2 separate regions of the Homo sapiens genome follow, and region 2 is linked to region 1. Evidence: promoter capture Hi-C in human tissues and cell types (Jung and others, 2019). All regions are on one chromosome and are shown on one strand. The core of a region is centred on a gene start or on the middle of the fragment in contact, and the rest is flanking DNA. Distances in the headings are between cores, read along the strand shown. Region 1 holds the start of ETFA (electron transfer flavoprotein subunit alpha). Region 2 overlaps SCAPER (S-phase cyclin A associated protein in the ER).

Region 1 (7,750 bases), core at 2,131-4,630:
GGTGTAATCTTGGCTCACTGCAACCTCTGCCTCCCAGGTTCAAGTGATTCTCATGCCTTAGCTGCAGGGGTAGGTGGTATTATAAGAACATGCTACCACACCCGGCTAATTTTTGTATTTTTAGTAGTGAAGGTGGGGGGAGGGTCTCGCCATGTTGACCAGGCTGGTCTTGAACTCCTGACCTCAAGTGATCCGCCCGCCTCGGCCTCCCAAATTGCTAGGATTACAGGTGTGAGCCATTGCACCTAGCCCATTGGACACATATTTCTACAAATGTTTGCTGAACATCTAAAAATAAGAAGCAAATAAATAGGCTGGACACGGTGGCTCACGCCTGTAATCCCAGCACTTTGGGAGGCCACGGCAGGCAGATCACCTGAGGTCAGGGCTTTGAGACCAGCCTGACCAACATGGTGAAACCCCATCTCTACTAAAAATACAAAAATTAGCTGGGCATGGTGGTGGGCACCTGTAATTCCAGCTACTTGGGAGCCTAAGGCAAGAGAATCCATTGAAACTGAGGGGAGGTGGAGGTTGCAGTGAGCCGAGATCGCGCCACTGCACTCCAGCCTGGGTGACAGAGTGAGACTCCGTCTCCAAAATAAATAAAATAAAAATAAGTAAATAAAAGGAAACCATAGGTCCTGCCACCAAAGCGGCTCCTAATGGAGTGGGAAAGTCATATGCCTCTAGGGAAAATCTTCTAATAGAAATGTCTTAGCACACACATTTCTGTGGTACATAACCTGGTTGTGATTGTAGAACCCTGATACATCCCAAAGCCTCAGGGGGCGTTTCATGTGTGATCAGAACAGGTCTGGTCAGGTGTCACAGACTTTGCCCATTTTTAGCCTCTCCCTCTGCTCTGAACTGCTCCACCAGGAACCCCCAGGGGCAACGAGACTCTGGGGTGAACAGCTGCTGCTGATTTGCCCAAGCCTGGGAGCTGTTGAATCTGCCCAGTGGGGGCAGGGCGGGGCAGCCGCTCTCCCCTTGTATTTCGCTTTGTCATGGGTGGGGAGGTAGGGAAGGAGGTTAGTTTGTATCCCAGTTTTTTATATGGTTTTTAGTAAAATATCCTTTTCTGTTTTTACTAAAAGTACCCTTCCCTCTTCCTTCCACTCCCATAGGTCTCAGATTCTAGTCCAGTGTGGGACTGGTTAGGAGGTAAATGCAGTGAGACATGGAATACTAAATTGCCCCTCCCACAGGCAGATTGACTGGGGGACAGGGGTCCACAGCTCTGTCGGCAACATGAGTTCAGACGTGTTCGAAGTGGGTGCAACTTAAGTTTAAGATGGGTCCTCACCTCCTTGTTCATAGAGCTACAAGAGTGAAGAAGAGGAAAGGATTAATTCATCCTGCAGAATTGAGAAAGAGCTTACAAAAGAAATGTCACTTGGGCCAGGCGTGGTGGCTCATGTCTGTAATCCCAGTACTTTGAGAGGCCAAGGTGGGAAGATCACTTGAGGCCAGGAGTTCGAGACCAGCCCTGGGTAACCCTGCCCCTACAAAAAAAAATAGCTGGGCATGGTGGCACATGACTGTAGTCCCAGCTACTTGGGAGGCTGAGGCAGGAAGATTGCTTGATCCCAGGAGTTCGAGACTGCAGTGAGCTGTGATGGCACCACCGCACTCCAGCCTGGGAAACAGAGTGAGACCTTGTCTTAAACAGAACAAAAGAATTGTCACTTGATCTGGGTTTTAAAGAGGGCTGTCAGATGGGGAAGGGAATTTCAGACAGAGGGAAGAGCAAAAGCGCAAGGCCCTTAGAGTGCTTGTTAGTTCAGACAAAGCTCTTGCTTCAGGGAATTTACACTCCAATGCAGTGAGATCAGCAATAAACAAACATGTGCATCCTGTTAGGCAGTGATAAATGCCAAGAAAAAAAATCAAACAAGGTGATAGGGCGTCTGGGAGTGGCATGGGTGCTATTTTAGGTGGAGAGGCTAAGGCCGGCCTTTCTGCAAATGTGTTTTTTGAGCAGAGACCTGAATGAAGTGAGGAAGTACGCCACGCGGGTAACAAGAGAAGGCCATTTCAGGCAGAGGGAAGAGCCAGAGTGCAAAACTCTGAGAGGAGCAGGCTTGTGTGCTCAAGAAGGCCTATGTATCTGGGGAACAGTGAGAGAAGAGGGCAGTGGGAGGAGAGGGAGCCACCATAGGGCTTTGAGCAGAGGTCATGATCAGTCCATCAGTTTGGAGAAGAGGCTTCTGGAAACATGGGCAGAAACAGAAAGACCAGTTAGGAGGCTTTGCAATGATCCAGGCGAGAGAGGACAGGGTCCTGAGTGAAGGTGATACCAGCAGAGGAGCAAAGGGGTGTTGGAGGATATTGCTGGATTCTGGTTATCTTTTGAAGGTAGAGTCAACGGGATTTGTTGATAGACTAGATAACATTGGAAAGGTAGGTTGTTGCTGAATTGGGAATTGAGACAATTTCTGAACATACCACTTCCCTCTTAAAAATTTCGTGTTAAAGTCCAGACTCATTAGCAGTCATTTATTCATTTGCTTATTCATTCAACACATACTGATTGAATGCCTAGTATGGACCAGGCATTGTGCTAGGTGTTGCAGGTAGACACAAAATTTAAAAGTAGGGCATACTGGCCGGGCGCGGTGGCTCACGCCTGTAATCCCAGCACTTTGGGAGTCCGAGGCGGGCGGATCACGAGGTCAGGAGATCGAGACCATCCTGCCTAACACTGTGAAACCCCGTCTCTACTAAAAATACAAAAAAATTAGCTGGGCGTGGTGGCGGGCGCCTGTAGTCCCAGCTACTCGGGAGGCTGAGGCAGAAGAATGGAGTGAACCCGGGAGGCGGAGCTTTCAGTGAGCTGAGCTCGCGCCACTGCACTCCAGCCAGGGTGACAGAGGGAGACTCTCTCTCTCTCAAAAAAAAAAAAAAAAAAAAGGGCATACTTTCTGCCCTTACAGATCTTCAGTCAGATGGGTGACACAGACAAGTACTTAGGTTATTACAACCCATGTGACAATTGCTACCATGGGGAAATACAGGGGGAAATAGGGGCATATAGGAAAGGTATCTAATTGGAATTGGCAAGGCTCCACTCGTACCTTACCCCGAGGTCAGCTCAGTTTTGAAGTTCACTCTAGCAGTGCTGACCATTGCGGGGCTGTGAGACAGTACAGTCTGAGCTCGGTCATCAGCGGGTGGCCAGCTTTGTCTCTGCCGCTCCGCGGCCCGGGCTTACTCGAAGGTCCCCGGGGAATAGCCTCACCTTTGCCCCACTTCCCAGTCTAGCCCCTAACTTCCCGCCGTCTATTGGCTGCGCAGCCGCCCAATGGGCAGGCGGAAACCGCGGGCTCGTGCTCCCGGCCTAGGGCGTCTTATCTCGTTCGCGCGTCTCGCGAGCATTAGGTGACTGGCTGAGGCGGCGCCAGTTGGCCGGGCACGGGGCTGCTGTAAGGCCGAGGTTGCGGCGGAAGCGGAGACCATGTTCCGAGCGGCGGCTCCGGGGCAGCTCCGGCGGGCGGTGAGTCCGGACTGGGAAGGCGAACCCAGGGACGGCCCCCCGTCAACCCGCCGTCCCTATGGGGTCTTGCAAAGATCACTGGCCCCCTCAGATTCGACCAGCCCTCGCGCCCGCAGGCCGGTCCCCGCCTGGGACTTGGGTCCAAAGTTCTGGGGCCTACCCTGGACTCCCTGCGGAACGCCAGTTCGGGGCAGAAGTCAGAGGTTTGGGGTCAGGGTGACCCCGAATGATGTGAATTTGCGCGTCTGCTGCCCCTTCTTCTGGCCCACTCTCTGCCCTGCCGTTTCCCACCTTTGTCGGTCACTCTGGGCACTTTCGGGCCGCCAGGTCCTCCACACTTGCTCCACACCCGAGGGAGCAAAATGTCACCGGGGAATGCCCTGTTGGGGAAAGTTTCAAACCTAGATTCCTCCCGGAGGCCGGCATTTCTGGAAGAATTAAACACTTTGGGCGCATCGTGGCTACTCCGACCCACTCACTGTCAAGGGCGGGGGTGGGGTGGGGTGGGAGGCTGCGTGGCCAGTTATGGAAGCTGGTTCTGCTTTCTGGTTTATGGAGCAGGGCTGAATTTAGGTGATTGTATTTGTAAAACCTGCGATCCGATTTGACAGCTTTAGCCAGTTTTGAAAGGCAGACGTCTTTTTATATGCTTCAGGCTGACCTGCTTTTAACCAGCAGATTGTAGATTAGGTTAACTGGTGACAGTGGTACATTTTCAGTGTTTCATTAGTGACAAACCACATTTCTCTCTTCTGTTGTGAGAAGGACTGATAGGAAACATATTTTCCTTCTCATGCTGTGGGAAAGGAGTATTTGGAGACTGACCAGTCACAAGTCAAGTAACAATAATTTATATTGTGGATTGTGTAGTTTTCCTAGTTTACATTTAGGTGAAATGAGAAACAAGATTGGTAAACTTGGGTCAGAAACTTACCTGATGGTTTGTACCTTTTCTCCTTTTTTTTTTTTTTTTTTTTTTTCTGGGCATGGATATTTTCCCATCCACTCCTGGGATTTTTCTCTCTGAGGCATAGCTGGAGCTCTTTCTAGATGTCTGTAGACATTAGACTTTTGTTTGTTTGTTTGTTTGTTTGTTTAAGAGACAAGGTCTGGCTCTGTTTCCCATGCTGGAGTGGAGTGCAGTGGCACGATATGGGCTCACTGCAACCGTCGCCTCCCAGGTTCAAGCGATTCTCCCACCTCAGCTTCCCGAGAAGCTGGGATCACAGGTGCGCATCATCACGCCTGGCTAATTTTTTTTTTTTTTTTTTTTTTTTTTTTGTAGAGACGGGGTTTCCCCATGTTACCCAGGCTGGTCTCGAACTCTTGTCCTCAAGTGATCCACCTGCCTCGGCCTCCCAAAGTCCTGGAATTACAGGCCTGAGCTACCGCACCTGGCCTTAGACATCTTTTTTCTTGTGCGTATTCCTTGTTTAATAAAAAGTTCTGACCCTCCCCTCCCCTAAAGAGTTCAAACCCATGTCTTTCAGGTTAGTGTCCTGTCTTCCCCTCAGGACATGTTTTCTCCCGGTTGGGGATCTAGACATAAACAAGTGAAAATCATGAATTTGGGGAAATTCCAGGAACCTGAGCCAGAAGAATGCTGCTCTATGCAGCAGTTGGAAAACAGTTTTGTGGACAGATTACAAGTCTGGCCTAAGTGAAATTATAATTGTGGTGGGGGATGGAATTTAGGACTCAGTAATTTTGTAGAGCTAACAGAAAAAAATGGAATGATTAAGTAATTTTTACTATCCACATCGTTGGCTAATGTGTATAGACATTACTTCCAGATATTCATTGTGGTTTGCCAAAGACTTTGACCTTGACTTATTTTTAAAATTTGAAGTCAAGCTAAGTAGAATAGCTGTTTTTTTTGTTTGTTTGTTTGTTTGTTTTGAGACGGAGTCTCGCTCTGTCGCCCAGGCTGGAGTGCAGTGGCGCGATCTCAGCTCACTGCAAGCTCCGCCTCCCGGGTTCACGCCATTCTCCTGCCTCAGCCTCCTGAGTAGCTGGGACTACAGGTACCCGCCACCACGCCCCGCTAATTTTTTTGTATTTTTAGTAGAGACGGGGGTTTCACTGTGTTAGCCGGTATGGTCTCGATCTCCTGACCTCATGATCCGCCCGCCTTGGCCTCCCAAAGTGCTGGGATTACAGGCGTGAGCCACCGCGCCCAGCCTAGAATAGCTGTTTTAAAGTCATTAAGAATGTTGGAGAGATTTGGATTTCTAGCATAAAAGAAATGGTGGCAACACTTCTAAAGTGGACCCATATATTAATAGGGACATATACCTGTATTTAACTTTTTAAATTTTGAAATAGTTGCACTTATAGAAAAGTTGCAAGAATAGTACAAAGAAATCTCAAAACCCTTCCCCTGGTTTTCCCAGCATGTTAGCAGTTTGACACATTTGCTTTATCTTTCCACATATATACATAATACTATCTTTCTGAACCATTTGAAAGTATGTTGCAAATGTGCCCTTTACTCCTAAATAATTGAGTGATATTTTAAAAGAACAAAGAGGTTCACTTTCTAACTACACTGTAATTGGCAATATCTGGAAGTTTCACCATAAAATACTGTTTTCTAATCTATGGATGTTCAATTTTGCCAGTTGTCCCATTAGTACAGTTTATAGCAATTTTCCTTATTCTGGTCTAAGATACTCTAGATGTCCTGCAAGTGGTTTTCATGTCTCTTTACTCTGTTAGAAAGGTTCCTCAGCCTTCCTTTGGGTTTGATGACATTGGTGTATTTGAAGAGTACAGGCCTTCTATTTTCCAGACTGTCACTCAATTTGGGTTTGTCTGGTGTTTCCTCATGATTAGATTCAGGTCATGTATTCTTGGTGGGAATATCACAAAAGTGGTATTGTGTTCCCCGTGCATCATATTAGCAGGTACTTAATGTTGGTTTATCCCATTAGTGGTAATGCTGACTTTAGTTACTTAGCCAAAGTGTTGTTTGCCAGGTTTCTCCACTGTCAAGTTAATACTCCTCCTTTTGTAATTTTTAACTAATTTGTGAGGCGATTCATTGAGACTATGTGACTGTCCTATTTCTCATCAGACTTTTACCCAGTCTTAGCATCTGTTGATGATTTTTGCCTGAGAAATGATTACTATGATGCAAAATGGTGATTTTCTATTTCCATGATACCTTCGTACATTTTTTAGTTATTCTACTATAAGGAAGAACATTATCTTCTTGCATATTTATGGATTTATGGATACATGGATCCTTATTTAGGATAATACATTTCTACCTTATGCTGAAGTTGTCTCATGTTTGTAAAGTGGGGCCCATTCAATCTGACTCCTGTTTGTTTACATATATATGTTTGTGATATCACAAAGTCAAAATAGCTTATCTCAAGTCCCCACTCTTGAAATTAAAAAAAAAATGTTCTGTAGCTAACCATTAATGCATTTAGGAAGAGGATACATTTCCAAAACCATATTTAAAAAAATAAAGTTAGGAATTACAGTTAAAAGATTACCATAAACTGTTAACGATGTGCATATAGTTAACACTTAACACTTAAAAATGGTTAAGATGGGGCCAACCATGGTGGCTGACACCTGTAATCCCAGCACTTTGGGAGGCTGAGGCAGATGGATCACCTGAGCTCAGGAGTTCGAGACCAGCCTGCGCAACATGGCGAAACCCCATCTCTACCAAAAAAAAAATTAGCCAGGCGCCATGGTTCACACCTGTAGTCCCAGCTACTTGGGAGGCTGAGGCACGAGACTTGCTTGAACCTGGGCATTTGAGGCTGCATTGAGCCCAGGTAGCACCACTGCCCTCCGGCCTGGGCAACAGAGTGAGACGCTGTTTCAAAAAAAAAAAAAAAGGTTAAGATGGTAAATTTTATGTATTCTTTTAAACCACTTTGTTAAACTATTAGGATATAAGTTCAATGACTTGCATTTGGTATCTAAGTTCCATTTTTAGTTCTGACTGATTTGTGCCATTGAGTAAAGTCTTTCATCCTTATGTGTGTGGCAATGGTCTTTAAAGTCATCTGTTAACAAAGATAGTTTTTATATCTATAATAAAGAGCTAGAGAACACACCAAGAGGCAAATAGGTAGGCATTTGCAGTTAGTTAATATTCTTGCAGGGATATTAATCCTAATTATTGTTATTTATTAATTTGCTCTTGAAATTGATTTATTGAAGAATAAGAAGATGCAGAAAAATATTTATGTGGTGAGTGAAACAACAATTTCAAGGTCATTTGAG
Region 2 (7,750 bases), core at 5,184-7,683, 550 kb before region 1:
CGTAAAAAGTGACAAGTTCTGGAGAGGAAAATTTGGGTTAGACTCTCATCACAGAGAATTAGAGTAGAAGAATATAGTCTTTGTTTTTCTGGTAGTTGGATATTAGTTGGCGAGTTGATTCATTTTTGTACCGAAACCTGTTTCCTGTCACTCACAGATTTAGCACCTATTGTCATTCCCTCTTTCTTACCATAACACAATTTGTCTCTGTACTGGATCATCCCCATCAGTATGAAAGTATGATATACTATCACTCATCTTAAAAATCCATTCTGTTTATTTATTTCTTTGTTCTCCTTTATGACGAAACTCAAAGTATCTTAATACTCAGTATCCCCATTTTTCTCATCATTCTGTTTTGAACCGTTTTCAGTCAGGATTTTGACCCTACTATACCACTAAATAGGCAATAAGTTACCAATTTATTAGAGTTTATTATAAATTATTACTTTTATCACTTCCTGGACAATGCAAGGCTGTCAGTCTTATGGCTGTTGCTTTAAAGGTAATGAGTTGATTTTTCCCTCTCCTCTGTACTCAAGATTTTTCTCTTTGTTTCAGTTTATCATCAGTTTTTCTGTGATATGCTTAAGTGTGGTTTTCTTCGTATTTATCCTCTTTGGGGTTTGCAGAGCTTCTGGGAGAATTGGGCTTATATCTTTTTCTCAACTTTATTTTATACTGTCAAAGAGATTAATGGGATAGTTGGTGAAATGTAAATGCTGTAATTTAAATAATAATTCTGTATCAGTGATAATCTCCTGATTTTGTTAGTTATAGTATAGTGATATAGGATAGTATCCTTACATATATAAAATACATAGTGAAGTATTTACTGCCAAGGAGTATAACTGCAGATTGTTCTCAAATGCTTCAGGAAAAAAATGTGTGAGGGTATGTTTGATATTCTTTGTGTGAATTTATAACTTTTTAGTAATTTGAATTTATTTCAAAATGACAAGTAATATGTGTCTGTTTATCTCACAGTTGGCTTCTTACCATACAGCCACATTGTTTGTTTACATACTGACTATGGCTGCTTCACATAAAATGGCAAAATTGAGTAGTTGTTACAGAGGTCTTATGGCCTGCAAAGCCTAAAATAAAAAAAAAAAAATTATTATCTGGCCCTTTGTAGAAAATCTTTGCTGACCCTTGCTCTAGAGTGTACTATAGTGACTTTTTTTTCTTTCCCTGAAGTGATGCTACTCATTAATTTCCTTCATTTGAAAATAATGTATTGCTTTTTCTTCACATATTCCCCAAAAGAGTAAAAATTAACCAGTGGGTGGGGAGAATCCAAACTGGAAGGCAAATAGTAACATACTCCCAGGTGAAGATGAGAACTAATTACATGATTTTGGCAAACAGTACTTTGGATATTGTAAGGTTAAAGATAAGAACCATACGTAAATGCTGTAATGTAGTTAGTAAATGTGTTTCTCATAGGAGTATGGGTTAGCAACTTTGAAACTACTTTATGTGTATATTAGAATTGAACAGATAAGTAAATAAGTTGTAGATAATGAAAACTGGGGATCTTATGTTGGAGAAAGAAGTTTCAGACAAGCAAAGCGAAAGGCTAAAATGAGCCCCGTGGCTTAGGATTGAAATCAATCAGTATAAACTCACGGTTTTTAATATCTGTATAGAAATAGATCCAGGTGTGTATATTGTGTGTTAGGGTGCATTCATCTAGTTCCTATTATCTCATTCTGTGAGTTGACTGGGTGATTTTTGTGATGTGATGTTGGCTTGGGTACTGGCATGGCAGCAGTTTTCTAGGGGCTCAGCTGGGCTGGAATGTCCAAAATGGCTCACTCACACAGTGGGTAGAGGATGCTGTCCTCTGGGAATTCAGCTAGGGCCTGTCAACCAGAGTGCTGCCCATGTGTGGTCTCTCTACTTGTGGCTTGGGCTTCTCATGGCATGACAGCTGGATTTTAAGAGTGACTGCCCTAAGAGGGAGCATTCTAAGAGACTCAGGTGGAGGCTGCAAAGCTTCTGATGACCTAGTCTCAGAAGTTATGCAGTGTCCCTTCTGCCGCATTTTATTGGTCAGAAAGCAAGTTACAGAGGCATATTCACGGGGAGTGGATTACATGAGGGCATGAACACCAGCAGGTGTGGTTTTCTGGGGCCAAGGGAGGCATCTTTGAAGACTACCTACCATACTTGTTAATTCATATATTATTTTTTACTCTTACATGTTTGCTTCATTTACTTGGATTGTTAGCTCTTTGAGGACAAGCACAATACTTTATATATTTATATTTTTCTTTATATTCTCCTCAGTCTCTTACTTGATGCTTTTGCACATAGTAATTGCCTCGTTAAATGTATTGCGCTTTAGGATTCCAGGAATGCTAAAAGTCCAGGCTGGCAAGAACTATAGGAGGGCAGGGAGGCACCTACTAATTGGACTGGGATTTTGGGCTGGCCCAGTGGTGAACTTGTTTCACAAAGAGGCAGGTTTCCCACACAGATTTAAGGATTAGATAAGGAGGCTGCATCCTCGTGTTCACATGGGTGTTTTATGATCTCTTTCTTCTCATAGATACTTGGCTTATAAAAACAGACTATTTTGATATGACATTCATTAGTGGGGAGGCAATTTCCTTTATTTTACTGGACCTGGCTCCCAGCTGGCACAGGGTGTTGGTGGGGCTGAATCTTAGGCCCGTGTTCTTAGGCCAGGCAGGGCTAGAGCAAGCAAGAAATTACGTATGTTCTGTGCAATAGTTTGAGTTTTAAAAATTGCAATTTAAATTTACCTGTTAACAGCAATTATTATTTGAATCCTGATAACTTGGAGATAAAATTATGTAGCTAAAAATGGAATGTTGACTTACTTTAGCGCAATCTCTAGAGAATTAAAAAAAGCGTTTTCCAAAATATTTTATGCTGAAGAGGTCTTTTAGGGGAAATATATAGGATGTTTGTGAAAACTGGTCTCTTTCACACTTGGACTTGTTGATATGTAAGGGATGGTGCAGATATTAGTCCACAGCAGTGTTGGTGCTCTTTAGGCCACTTTTTCAAACCTTAGATTATATTTATTATTTAAATAATTTGTTTATTTTTTAGAGTTACAAAACTCAGTGTTTTTAGATCTAAAAAAGACTTGTGACTTCCTTTTCTCTGTTTAACCACCCACCACATCCCAAATTAGTTTTAAGTGTTTTCTTTCTGAGAAAAATGTGAGAAATAATGACTTTGTTAAATATATATTTTGACTTATCTAATAATCTAATAAGTACCATCTTTTCCATACATAGGCTTCATTCCAGCGCTCCAATAGTCATGACAAAGTAAGGAGAATAGTTGCAGAGGAGGGTCGTACAGCAAGAAACCTAATAGCTTGGAGTGTTCCACTAGAAAGCAAAGATGATGATGGTATGTATTTAAAAAATTAGTTTCATTTTTGTTGTAAATAAGGAGGGTGTATTTAGTCCTAAAGAGATAGACTGAAAACTGTTTGCAATTAGACTTCTAGGGCTGATTAGTATGTTAAATAAGAAATACTTTTTTGTTGCTTTTATACACACATGGTTTTATAAAAGCCTTATTGTTAGTTTTGCTTTTTCAGATAATAGTGAAATTTGAAATTGGGTTTATTGTGTTATTATGACCAGCAGATTAGGGGTTGTTAAAGTGATAAGAGATTTAGTGATATGTTTAGGCTTTGTCTCCCCACCCAAATCTCACCTTGAATTATAATCCCCATAATCCCCACGTGTCAAGGGAGAGACCAAGTGGAGGTAATTGGATCATGGGGGTGGTTTCCCCCATGCTGTTCTCGTGACAGTGAGTGAGTTCTCATGAAATGTGATGGTTTTATAAGGGGCTCTTTCCCCTAAGCTCGGTACTTCTCCTTCCTGCTGCCTTGTAAAGAAGGCGCCTTGCTTGCCCTTCTCCTTCCACCATGATTGCAAGTTTCCTGAGGCCTCCCCAGCCATGCTGAACTGTGAGTCAATTAGAGCCCTTTCCTTTATAAATTACCTGGTTTCAGACAGTTCTTTATAAGCAGTATGAAAATGGACTAATACATTTAGGTTTTTTCTTTTATTAAATTCTTATAAAAATAAAAGGAGGTTTTTTAAAAATCATATTTACCATAATTAGGTGCAATTTAATGTAATACTTTAGAAAATAGAAGATATTTCTTTAGTTCTCATTATTATTATTTGAACAAGAAAAAAAATCATCTCTACCCTCCCTTTAATGGCTAGAGGCAGTGTGAAGCCACTGTTTTGAGGATGTTGAAGATTGGATAGAGATACAGAAGACAGGAGGTTGGCATACCTCACTTTGAAATTTTCTGAGAGCTTGTAGAATATTCCTCACAGTTAGGTTTGTCTGGTATCTTTTCATGACTAGATTCAGGTAGGTGTTTTTAGTAGGAATTCTATAGAAATGATGTGTCCTTTTCAGTTATCAGAGGAGGTTCGTGATAACTGTCTCGTTAATTTAATCAATTGCTTTAAGTGTTGTCTGCCAAATTTCTCTACTGTAAAGTAACTAATTTTTTCCTATGTAACTAATGAGTAATTTGTGGTAAGATAGTTTGAAACTATGTAAATATCCTGTTTTTGTTGAAACAGTACACTCACTACTTTTTAGCTTCTATTGATAATCCTTGGCTTATGTTATACCTCTGGTGGTTGCAAAGTGGTGATTTGTTAACAACTCCATCATTCCTTCTGCATTTGTTAGCCTTCTAATATAAGGAAGAGCTTTACCATCTCCTCTTTATTTTTATGTATGTATGTATTTATGTATGTATTTATATTTTCAGTTTGTGTGGACTCATGGCTTCTTATGGTATTTAATGGGGTACAGTTACTCTATTTTGATGCTTAAATTCTTCTCAATTTTTCAAATGGGAGACCCTTTAACTTGGCTCCTGTTCCTTACATGTTCTAATCATGTTTCCATTCTTTGAGAACATCTTTACACAAGATGTTTCAAGCTAAACAAGAATTCACCTGTTTTATTCTCTTAAATTTATGTTTACATTTTATTTTATTTAAAATTTTCTTTAAAGAATGTTTTAAATCTTTATCTTTTTTACATTTGGTCCTCTGATCCATTTGTAGTTTATTCTTACATATAGTGTGTGGTACGGATCTAATTTTATCTTTTTCCTTATAGCTAACAAGTTGCCTCAGCATAACTTGTTATAAAGTTTATCTTTGCCCCAGTTATTTTTGATTCCACCTTTTCTGTAGAGTGAATTTCCATATGTATTCCATTCTACTAGTCTGTTTACCTAATTCATGTGTGTCATACTATTTTAATTATGGAGGCATTATAGTATTTTTAAATGCCTGCTTGGACCTGTCTTCCCCTGTAGCTTTTCTTTCTCAGTTTTCCTAGCTATTTTTAGAGAACATTGTTTTGAATCACAAAAACTATCAAATAGAGGGGAAAATTGGATTTATCTTTTGAAATTCAGCTTCTTAACAGCTAATCTTTCCACAAGGAGCTATTACTTCATTTCTTTGATAAAAGTACATATCAACATGATTTATTACAAAAGTAAAAAAAATTCTGTATATTATAAATATTTTTATATGAAATTGTATTCTCTCATTTTCCATGGGTTATTCTGAACACAAAATAGTTCAAAGGTGTTTCTATTAAAGTTGTTTCTATTCAAAAAACAAAGGAAAGAAAATATAATAATCAAACATCTGTACATAACCCGATTTTTCATACAAGAACATAAATAATTGGCCAGTACAATTTTAAAGCTTCATTTGTGACTATTGTAACAATAAAACTGTAAGCACAGGCTGGGCGCAGTGGCTCACGTCTGTAATCCTAGCACTTTGGGAGGCTGAGGCAGGTGGATTGCCTGAGCTCAGGAGTTCGAGACCAGCCTGGGCAACATGGTGAAACCTCGTCTCTACTAAAATACAAAACAATTAGCGGGGCATGGCAGTGGGTGCCTGTAATCCTAGCTACCCGGGAGGCTTGAACCTGGGAGGCAGAGGTTGCAGTGAGCCGAGATCGCGCCACTGCACTCCAGCCTGGGGGACAGAGTGAGACTCTGTCTCAAAAAAACAAAACAAAACAAAACAAAACCCAAAAAACTGTAAGCACAGATAATTAGAACTTTCTGAATATCTGTAGTAATGATGACAAAAGAAGAATATTAACATTTACAATTTTTGTTAAGGATTATTTTATATTGTTAAAACTTTGCCACATATAGGCAATTAAAGACTAAGTTTTTAATAGCAGCTTGTTCTTGTTTTATGACTACAATATATACTTAGGTGTTTCTGAGGATAATTCCACTTAAAAAAAGTTCTCTGCTTTGTATTATTTCTGTTTCTAAGCTGGTTTTTCTGCTGGATATTCTAAAAACCTGCTGGTACATTACAGCTTGTGCTTATTCTAAGCTGGTTTTTCTGCTGGATATTCTAAGAAAACTTGCTGGTAGATTGTTTTTTATAATTAAAGGATGTGGCTCTGTAGGTTAGTGTAGCATTCTCTCCCTTTACCCCTGGTGGAACAGTGAGGGTGTCCCACTTATGTCAGATAAGTTGATAGTTAGGTACCTGTGTGTTATGGCTCACTTATATTGCTTCAGGGGACCTGGCCCCAAAATTACTTTGCAGAAAGGAAAATTATTCTGTTATACATTATAGAATTTTATTCCTATTTTGAAATGCTGGAGAGGTTGCAGAGAAAAAGGAACACTTACACACTGCTGGTGAGAATGTAAATTAGTTTGGCCATTGTGGAAAGCACTTTTGGTGATTACTCAAAGAGTTGAAAACAGAACTACCATTTGACCCAGCAGTCTAATTACTGAGTATATACTCAAAGAATATAAATTGTTCTACCATAAAGATACATGTATGTGTATGTTCATCACAGCACTACTTTCAACAGCAAAAACATGGAATCAACCTAAATGGCCATCAATGGTAGACTGGATAAAGAAAATGTGGTACATATATACACCATGGACTACTACGTAGCCATAAAAAGAATGAAATCATGTTATTTGCAGCAATATGGATGGAGCTGGAGATCATTATCCTAAGTGAACTAATGCAAGAACAGAAAACCAAAAACTGCACGTTCTCATTTATAAGTGGGAACTAAACATTGAGTACATATACATGGACACAAAGAAGGGAGCAAAAGACAACAGGGCCTACTTGAGGGTAGAGGGTGGGAGGAGAGTGAGGATTGAAAAACTACCTATCAGTTACTTATGCTAATTACCTGAGTGACAAAATAATCTGTGCACCAAACCCCTGTGAAACGTAATTTGCCTGTATAGCAAACCTGCACATGTACCCCTGTACCTAAAATAAAAGAAAAAAAAAAGAATTTTATTTCTGTTTTGAATTGCTGTTGAGAATAGTAATTACAAAACAGTAGTTGGTGTCTTTCTTATAAAAAAGAATGAGTGAAAAAATATAAAGAACTGAAACCTCACTTTTCGCAGTGAAATTGTGCATTTCATATATCAGATAAAACAAAATATTGGGGTTTTATATAGAAAACATATAGTCTTAATTTTATTGTTGAAATGAAATTTGAACTTAAAGAACTATTTCCAGATTTATATACAAGTTGAGGAGTACCAGTAACTGGACTTTGTTTTTAAAAGTTGTCAGAGTATCTGACTTCTTTAAGATGTTGATTTATTCCTATTCAGAGAAAGGTATTCAATAATAGCAGTCTCTGGGACTTTGGAAATTTGTTGTTGTTGTTGTTTTAATTA

What was found. Contacts are between HindIII fragments. The study calls those that stand out against the background at their distance.
Region 2: a fragment that was not itself captured here is called in contact with the fragment with the promoter of ETFA in region 1 in 2 of the 25 tissues and cell types used here (heart left ventricle and lymphoblastoid cells).

What each region holds. Positions count from the first base shown.
Region 1 is chr15:76,307,099-76,314,848 of GRCh38, reverse strand. It overlaps ETFA (electron transfer flavoprotein subunit alpha), which reads left to right and starts at 3,380. Exons shown (of 12, transcript NM_000126.4): 1 at 3,380-3,499. The coding sequence starts at 3,461. RefSeq lists a cis regulatory region at 775-1,196 and enhancers at 2,758-2,807, 2,868-2,917, 3,127-3,627, 3,628-4,128. The HindIII fragment of the contact is 24,969 bases long and covers 1-7,750 here.
Region 2 is chr15:76,858,062-76,865,811 of GRCh38, reverse strand. SCAPER (S-phase cyclin A associated protein in the ER) reads left to right here. Exons shown (of 32, transcript NM_020843.4): 3 at 3,279-3,396. Among named protein-coding and RNA genes, the nearest start is that of SCAPER, 43 kb to the left of the region's middle. The HindIII fragment of the contact is 5,107 bases long and covers 3,880-7,750 here.